3 separate regions of the Homo sapiens genome follow, and all the other regions are linked to region 2. The links are contacts of gene promoters, found by promoter capture Hi-C in human tissues and cell types (Jung and others, 2019). All regions are on one chromosome and are shown on one strand. Each heading gives the region's core, a stretch centred on a gene start or on the middle of the fragment in contact. The rest is flanking DNA. Distances are from core to core; before and after follow the strand shown. Region 1 overlaps FCHO2 (FCH and mu domain containing endocytic adaptor 2). Region 2 holds the start of TMEM171 (transmembrane protein 171). Region 3 overlaps FCHO2 (FCH and mu domain containing endocytic adaptor 2).

Evidence for each region. Contacts are between HindIII fragments. The study calls those that stand out against the background at their distance.
Region 1: a fragment that was not itself captured here is called in contact with the fragment with the promoter of TMEM171 in region 2 in 1 of the 25 tissues and cell types used here (dorsolateral prefrontal cortex).
Region 3: a contact is called between a fragment that was not itself captured here and the fragment with the promoter of TMEM171 in region 2, in 1 of the 25 tissues and cell types used here (mesenchymal stem cells).

The regions. Positions count from the first base shown.
Region 1 is chr5:73,063,664-73,066,379 of GRCh38, reverse strand. FCHO2 (FCH and mu domain containing endocytic adaptor 2) reads right to left here. Exons shown (of 26, transcript NM_138782.3): 18 at 2,436-2,539. Among named protein-coding and RNA genes, the nearest start is that of TMEM171, 56 kb to the left of the region's middle. The HindIII fragment of the contact is 3,441 bases long and covers 1-2,716 here.
Region 2 is chr5:73,119,013-73,122,086 of GRCh38, reverse strand. TMEM171 (transmembrane protein 171) reads right to left here and starts at 1,512. Exons shown (of 4, transcript NM_173490.8): 1 at 1,391-1,512. It overlaps LOC124901001, which reads left to right and starts at 1,596. Exons shown (of 2, transcript XM_047417978.1): 1 at 1,596-3,074. The coding sequence starts at 1,658. The coding sequence ends at 2,359. RefSeq lists an enhancer at 2,122-2,673. The HindIII fragment of the contact is 7,583 bases long and covers 1-3,074 here.
Region 3 is chr5:73,083,883-73,086,739 of GRCh38, reverse strand. The region is part of intron 24 of FCHO2 (FCH and mu domain containing endocytic adaptor 2); the gene reads right to left. Among named protein-coding and RNA genes, the nearest start is that of TMEM171, 35 kb to the left of the region's middle. The HindIII fragment of the contact is 4,705 bases long and covers 1-2,857 here.

The DNA of each region.
Region 1 (2,716 bases), core at 149-2,648, 56 kb after region 2:
AAAAACATGGAACTAAATGTCAAATAAATTTCTGAAAACATTTAGAAATTTAATTCTGACAACGGTGTAGAAGACAGAGCACTCATATTGAAATACTCTGTAGCCACTTAAAATAGTGCTCCCTGAAGCTCAGAGGGTGGTTTCTAGAAGGCTCTCAAGGATGGGGAGAGGGTAGTGTATGGTGATATGGGGATGATGTGAAGGATTCAACTATGAGTCCCACTTTATTTTAATATATTAATACTTACAATTTAAAGTTATTTGGCAAAAGATTCTATCACTTTAAAGAAGCTTGAAGACTATGAAATAAGAATAATTCATTCAGCAACATGGATAGAACTGGAGGCCATTATCCTGAGTGAAATAACTCAGAAACAGAAAGTCAAATACCTCATGTTCTCACTTATAAGTGGGAGCTAAACAAAGGTTACACATGGACATATACAGTGGAATAACAGAGAGTGAAGACTACAAAAGGTGGGAGGATGGGAAAAGGGTAAGGGTAGAAAAATTACCTGTTGGGTACAATATTCACTACTCAGTTAATGGGTACACCAAAAGCCCAGATTCTGCCGGTATGCAATATATACATGTAAGAAATCTGCACTTGTATCCCCTAATTCTATAAATAAAATTATAATCAAAGAATAATTCATGATATAGAAAGATATTTGCAAGTAGAAAACAAATTAGAAATATGTAAAGTATGACTTTTTATTTAAAAATATGCCTATACAATTAATAATTTTTGAGCAACTATTTGCATTCAACAATATTCTGTTTTACATGTATTAACTCATTTAAGTCTCACAACCTAATATCATTACACATATTTTATCCATGAGGCAACTAAACTCTGATTAAATAACTGTTTAATGTTGCTCAGCTAATACGTGGCTAATAAGCTTGTACTTTTAACTATATTTTACTGCCTCTGGATAAACACTTATGCATTCCAAAAAATGTTAACAGTGGTTATCTTTGGGTGGTGAAATACAGAGGAAATTTATAATTTTCCTTCTCTGCTTTCTCTGTTTTCCAAATTTTATAACACGATCATTTACTGTTTTTACAATCAGGAAAAAAAAATCAATTTATTAGAATGTACTCAAAGTTCTAGTCATAACGATTTAAAAAAGAGAATGAAGTATTTTAAAATGTAGTAATTTCTATATTACTTAAATAATAACCTTCTCCTTGGCAGCTTGTACCTAGTCTTTTATTTTACTTCCACTAAGTCTGTTCATTCGGAAAAGAAAGATATCACCATTTCAATACTTGGTGCCGAAGCTTTTCAATATATTCACTGAAGATTTCATAACTGTGTACCACCCAACAGGCATCATGCAAAGTACTGAGGATATGAGACTGACGAAGGAATAGCCCAGTAAAGGTAACACACACAAAAAAAGTACATACAAGGTGATATATGAACTAACAAAAATATAAGCAAAGTATCTGGGTATAAGGAAGATAAGTGAAGGAATGATCAAAGAGGGTTTTGCCTAGGTGGTGATGTTTAGCTAGGTCTTAAAGAAAGAAGTCAATTTGTGACATAGAAAACTGAGGGGCATTTGAGATACAGCACAGGAAGAAGACATGGACATGTAAAAGACCATGATGTGTTTAAGGAACCCTGAAAAGTTTCAAGTGGCTGGAACCTAGGTTGAAAAGGGGAGAAAGATGGACAGTTAGTCTGGTAATGTAGGTTGTTGAGGCAGCTTTATAAAGACTCTTGTACATTCAGCTAAAACAGTCAACCACACAGACTGAGAAACCACTGGAAATGTGTATCAAGGGAAAAAAGATTAAACTGGACTTAGAAATTTAATTCTGGTAATTAAACTGGCAATTAGTGTAGAAGATGAAGCAAAACAAACCAGATCAAAGGCAAATAGACTGGGAGAGCCTCACTGCATAGAGTCTATAGATTTTCTCTATCTGATGACTTTTAAAAACCAATGCTTTTCCCACCCATGCATGTACTTTTATAAGTCAACTGGATGATGTGGACTCCAGTTTCCTTATGTGTAAAATTTTAAATGCTGAGCTAGATGCCTTCCATAATCCTCCTTGCAGTATACTTTTAAGGTCTAAGAACAAGCCACCATTTATTTCCTTAACATTTGACTTTAAGTAGAATTATATGAAAACCGCTTCTTTATTGTGAGACAATGGATACTGAATGGTATTTTTATAATGTGCCAACTTTCTCAGGAAATCTCTTTCCTCCTGGACAATGTCGTGTCTCACAGGTATGATCACTGTGGTAACAAGGAAGAGTAAAGGAAGCACTAGCTGGGAAAATTTTTCTATACTGTGAGGACATGGGTAGAAAACTTCAAGCAATTAACTGTAAAAGGGCATATAGAAAAATAGCATTTGCATCTTAAATCAAAACAGTTAAATAATTTTTAAAAAACCTGAGTACATACTATTTCATTAATCCCACTGAGTTTGCCTGAAGTAAGCTTTGGTCTGGAAGCAGGCCTCGGAGGTGGGACAATGGTGCCTACAGAAAGAGGAGTTGTGGGCCTGGCTGGTTGAGGGGGAAAAGAGAATTTGAAGAAAATCATTAGTATGTAGCAATCCTTACATAAAGACATTCTATTATAAAGAAACTTTTGGTAATCAAAGCTCATTTTTCAGGAGGCTCTTTTTTTAGATGTAATTATAGATGTTGAAATATTGGGAATCTATCAAATATGCTTTATTT
Region 2 (3,074 bases), core at 263-2,762:
ACCCAAGCCCTGTACTTCAGGGGTATAATATATTAAATATGCCAAGTGGTTGTTAAAGAGTTGTCTAGCTTACACAGAGCTGACCTAATTATCTCGTTATCTTATTTTACTCCAATGAATGGGATATTTTACCAGGACCCCGTAAGTCAGGTCCTGCAATTGCAAAGACAATCCAAAATCGTGAAGACTATTTTCACCTGCCCAAGGAAAGAAAACTTTTAAAATATTTTGTGCCGCTCACATCCATGGTCCCATGAAGGAACTCAAGACTGAGGCCCTAAGCCCAAGATGATCTTGACAAACCAAAATCACACTGAGGGAAGGTCAGTTTAGGTAAAGAAAGCAAACAGGCAATCTTACACTGGGAAAAACTTTTCCAGGAAAAAGTATGATAGAATCAGAAGGAAGTTGGAGAAAAAAAGGAAATATAGGAGGGAAAAAAGCTTTCATTTCAAACTTGGAAAAACTTGATATACAGATGCAGTTAAGCTGAGACAAAGCATTGCACTAATTTTTTAATCTTCCCATTTTTTATTAAGTCAGTAACATCCTGCAGTGAATAAGAATTTCATATTGAGTATACAGTAGTCCTCATTTATCCTACAGGGAGTACATTCCAAAACTCTCAGTGGAATGAAACGATGGAGAGTCCTGAAACCTATATATATTGGTTTTTTGTTATTGTTGTTGTTTTAATTTTTTTCCTGAATCATGCAATCTCTTTTGCGGTTTCGGAGACAAGAAAGAGAAGGGTGATTCTCGGCTGCAAAGTCCTATCAGGAATTCATTTATTCCCAGTATAGTCAACTTTGCAGTGAGTCACAAGGCTTCAACTGTCTTAAGGCAAATTCCCAAACACCAGTAAATAGAAGCCCAAAACTGAATCTGTAGTTTCTTGTCCGTGGACTAGTGGACGGAGCACCTGGCTGAGTGTTCACCTCTGATCCATAATAGTGTGGAAATACTCTCTCTCTCTCCTTCTCCCACAGATGCACTCACAAACGGATACAAAGACACCCACATTCACTCGCAATGAAACCTTTTCCAAACACCACCCTACACTTAAACTCCCCAAAGCCAAACTCCCCTCTCCAACACTCCTATTGGTTTTCCAAAAGACATTTCCAAAATTCACAGCACCTCTCCACGTCCAAAGCTATGGTGCGTTTGGGGAACGAAACGAGAGGCAAATGCCTTCTGTGCGAAATCGGTTTGCGGCTTTTAGGGAGCCCGAGCGCAAGCAACAGCCGGAGGGGCTCGCAGGGACGCAGGTTGGGCTCGGATACCCAGCGCCTCCGCGCTGCCGCGGCTCCCCGCGCCCAGCCTGGCCGCACAGCTCAGCGCCCGACCCGCCGCCGCCGGCGCAGGCGCGCGGGCCGGGGCAGCTTACCTGAAGCTGGGTCCGGCGCCTGGCTGACCGCGCTGCTGTGGGCACTGGCTGGGCGCGGCGTCCGCCTCCGCACGCGGCCTCGGCTGCGCCGGCCGCCCTGCACCCTACCCACCGCGCGTCCTGGTGCGGAGGGCGGACCCGGCAGTATTTAGAGAAGGAGGCGGTGCTGCGCGGGCGCGGCGGCCCGGGGAGGGCAGGGCAGGGCAGTGCAGGAGCGACCGGTGGGAGCTGGCCGCCACTGGGGGCCCGGGGCGCGCCCGCGAGGGAATGGAGAGCCAGGGGCGGCTTCGGAACCCAGGGCTGGCGGGTTTGGCAGCCTCCGCGCTCGTGGCCGTGCGCGCGAGGAATCTGGGAGAAATGGGCACCTTCCACGGCTGCCTGGCCCGCACACCTGGCGGGGCCGGCGAGTTGAGATGCCCCCGCCGGCTGGCGGAACTGTGCGCCCCGCCCGCCGAGGCCCGCTCCCCCTCGAGGCCTGAGGCCCAGTTCTATAGGGGCGCGAGAGAGCGGCGGCGTGGGGGGCGCGGAGGAAGCGCCGGCCCCCGCCTCCACCGCCTCCTTCGTGGTTGCGGCCCAGGCCGAACAGGGTACCGTGCCCCGGCCGCCTTGGCCTTGGCCACCGCGAGGTCCGGGGCGACTACACCCAGCAGCCCTGTGGCCCTCCTACTGCTCTGGAGACCTGGAGTGGGGTTACAGAGGGAAGCGACTCGCTGCGAGCTCCCCATCGAATATGGAGCCACCAGGTCACGGGACGACGTGCGCTCTACAGAATGTGAGACAAGGGCCCTCCACACCCAGCCATTCAGGCCTGAGGTCCTGGCTCCGAGACTGAGGCCGAGACGCGGCAAGCCCCGCGCCGGACCAGCTCTGCCCCTCCCGCACCCACGTGTCTGCGCACAGCCCTCCTTTGCGATAGAACCCCCTTCCTGGTTCTCCACCACTAATGATCTGCCGGAATTAAACTGGTAACTTTCCCTGCCCTTGAACCGGGAGTTTCGGGATGAGTTTGCCAATCCCTGTGCTATTTGTAACCAGCCCCGTGACACGTGATACGGATCCAACTGTGCTAGTTTCCACACCAGGGGTCAGGGCACGGTGGAAGGTGAGTCAAGGGTTCTCTGCCCAAGCGCAGAGGTGCCCTGAGCCACGGGGACTTCCCAGCCCTGCCTTCTCTTCTCAGCTTCCTGTCTGCCTTGCCTGAAACCCTATCTAGAGTTAAGGCCAATGGATGAAACTTTTCAATGTGCAAGCAAGCACTTTACCTACCTGATACAACAAGAGATTCCTGGTCATGCTCACTGAAGGTAAAGTATGAAGCAGGCTTAGCTAATCATCAGAGGTGAGAAGAGACTTAAAGAACCAGTCAGAGAGGTAAAGAGGGGAGGGGGTTACCTGGGCTTTAGGGTTCACCAGGGAGGCAGAACGGACAAGTTCTTGCCATTGGAATTTGGTGGGGCACTTGCCTGGGTGGCCAAAGGTGGACTTTTTCATAGCCAGGGTGCCCGACCTCTGTAAATCCCCGCCATAACTAACAGCCCTGATTACTGTCGAAATGAACAATGCCAACACTCACGACCCCTTGCTTTGTGGTTCTTTGCTACATCTCTCCAGCAGTTCAGAAAAGGTTGGAGGCAGCAGGGGACAGGAGACTGAGAAAAACAGTCATTTGTCAGTTGAGGAAACT
Region 3 (2,857 bases), core at 267-2,766, 35 kb after region 2:
AAGTCACCAAAGATAAGGAAGACAAGAACATTTCAGATTAGTGTCTCAAAAGGGAAGAGAAGCACAAGATGCAAGGTTGGGAGACCAACTGCAAGTCAAAACAGTTTAGGACTCTAGATGATAGGAAAGGGGGATCTGAACTAGGGCTAATAAAAAGGAAAGATATTAAGAAAGTTATTTGAAAGATATTTAGGAGTTGGAATCAAGAAATGAGAAAGGAGGAGTCTAGGAGGGTTCCCAGGTTTCTGGATAGAGCAAATGGACAGAAATGCTAGGTACTAGCAGTAAGATCCTGTGATCCCCTGCACAGAAGCTTAACACTACACAGAGAAATGGAGAATAGGATGTCACAACATTGATCCAACTTGTATTATTATGCCTGGAGGCATAGATCAGTAGTGGAGATGAACTGCTGCCTTATTCTTAATTACTATCCAGGCCCTCAAACTTTTACAATTCTTGATAACCAATTTGGTTGTGCAAAAGTTCTACCATAGACCAAGAGCAACAACCTTGACAATCACCTTAGAAATATTTCCTGTCCCTCTTCTGAGTACACAGTCAGCAACAGAAAACAGATTTCTATTTTACAGAATTTTTTGTGTTTTTTTTTTTTGAGACAGAGTCTCTCACTCTGTTGCCTAGGCTGGAGTGCAGTGGCACGATCTTGGCTCACTGCAACCTCCGCCTCCTGGGTTCAAGCGATTCTCCTGCCTCAGCCTCCTGAGTATCTGGGATTACAGGCGCACACCACCATGCCTGGCTAATTCTGTATTTTTAGTAGAGACAGGGTTTCACCATATTGGCCAGGCTGGTCTTGAATTCCTGACCTCATGATCCACCCGCCTCAGCCTCCCAAAGTGCTGGGATTTCAGGTGTGAGCCACCGTGCCCAGCCTATTTTACAGCATTCTTATTTATTTATTTATTTATTTATTTATTTATTTATTTATTTATTTATTTTTTGAGACAGAGTCTCCCTCTAAGGCCCAAGCTGGAATACAGTGGTGCAATCTTGGCTCACTGAAACCTCTGCCTCCCAGGTTCAAGCTAGACTCGTGCCTCAGCCTCCTGAGTAACTGGGACTACAGGCACGTGCCACCACACTTGGTTAATTTTTGTATTTTTAGTAGAGGCAGGGTTTTGCCACATTGTCTAGGCTGGTCTCCAACTCCTGGCCTCAAGTGATCCACCTGCCTCAGCCTCCCAAAGTGCTGGGATTGCAGGAATGAGCCACCATGCCTGGCCTTGGATATTCTTTTCAAAGGCTTGACTAACCACATCAAAAACCACATTTATAAGATTTTTCCATTTCCTCACAGAAACACCTGATACCTGAATAGCAGAGGGAAACTTAAAATCTGGTTAGAAAATTTGTATCTCATTTTTTTATTTTTTGAGACGGAGTCTCTGCGCCAGGCTGGAGGGCAGTGGTGCGATGTTGGCTCACTGCAACCTCCACCTCCCGTGTTCAAACAATTCTCCTGCCTCAGCCTCCCGAGTAGCTGACACTACAGGCACGTGCCACTACATCCAGCTAATTTTTGTATTTTTAGTAGAGACAGGGTTTCACCATGTTGGCCAGGATGGTCTCGATCTCTTGACCTCACGATCTACCTGCCTTGGCCTCCCAAAGTGCTGGGATTACAGGCATGAGCCACTGCACCCAGCCTGTGTCTTATTTTTGAGAGAACAAATTTCTTTCTTGTTAATTATTTACAATAGTATAGTTTCATTATATTGGGGAAAAAGATCCTTTTGTCCTTCTAAACTGGTTATAAGCCCTTAATGCAAACAGGATTGCTGGTTTACTTCAATTTAAACTAGGAATTTCAGCTTGGCTCACAAAAAGCTATATATTAATAGCTAGGGTTAAAGTCAATGCAGTTGGCCAGCTGAAAGTGGGCAACCTATAAGTACCAAACAGCAAAAAAGAAACTGAAGATTTGCTTGGTTATTTCACCCAATGTATGGCTCTCCAGTAAAAGTCTTATTCTGCATGGCAGGTGTAAATGAATAAACAACACAGACATATTTACGGTCCTTTCTACAGAAATATCTATGAGAAAAGCTACTGATATGTTTTATATTATGCTCAAAATATTCAAAAAGAAAAAGCTCAGCAACATTTGAAAAGCCAAAAAACCTATCAAATAGAGGAGTTATTGGAGACTAGGCTGAGCATGGTGGCTCATGCCTGTAATCCCAGCACTTTGGGAGGCTGAGGCTGGCAGATCAACTGAGGTCAGGAGTTCAAGACCAGCCTGGCCAACATGGCGAAACCCTGTCTCTACTAAAAATACAAAAATTAGCTGGATGTGGTGGTAGGTGCCTGTAATCCCAGCTACTCGGGAGGCTGAGGCAGGAGAATTGCTTGAACCTGGGAGGCAGAGGTTGCAGTGAGCCAAGATCATGCCGCTGCACTCCAGAGTGGGCAACAGAGCAAGGCTCTGTCTCAAAAAAACAAAACAAAACAAAACAAAACCAAACCCTAAAAAAACAAGCAGAAAAGTTATTGTAGACTAAAATTATGCATTCAAAAGAAGGCAGAAGAATTCTCTTTTGATTAAGAGAAAATAAGACTATGTTAAAGACTTGGCTGTCCCAAGAATTACATCCTTATTGTAAGTTGAGTTATAGAAGTGATCAGCTAGGACAGCCTTTTCCTTGGCATTATGAACACAAACAGATGTACTTAGTGAGAGAAGCATAACTTGCTTCTCCTTAAAATAATCATCAGAAAATTGAATGCTGCTGATAGTTAGCTTTAATAGGGGGAAATGGACAGGAAAAAGGTTCTTTTAGAGAACTGCAGAAGGCAAGGGGGCTTTTTTTTTTTTTTTTTTTTGAGACAGAGT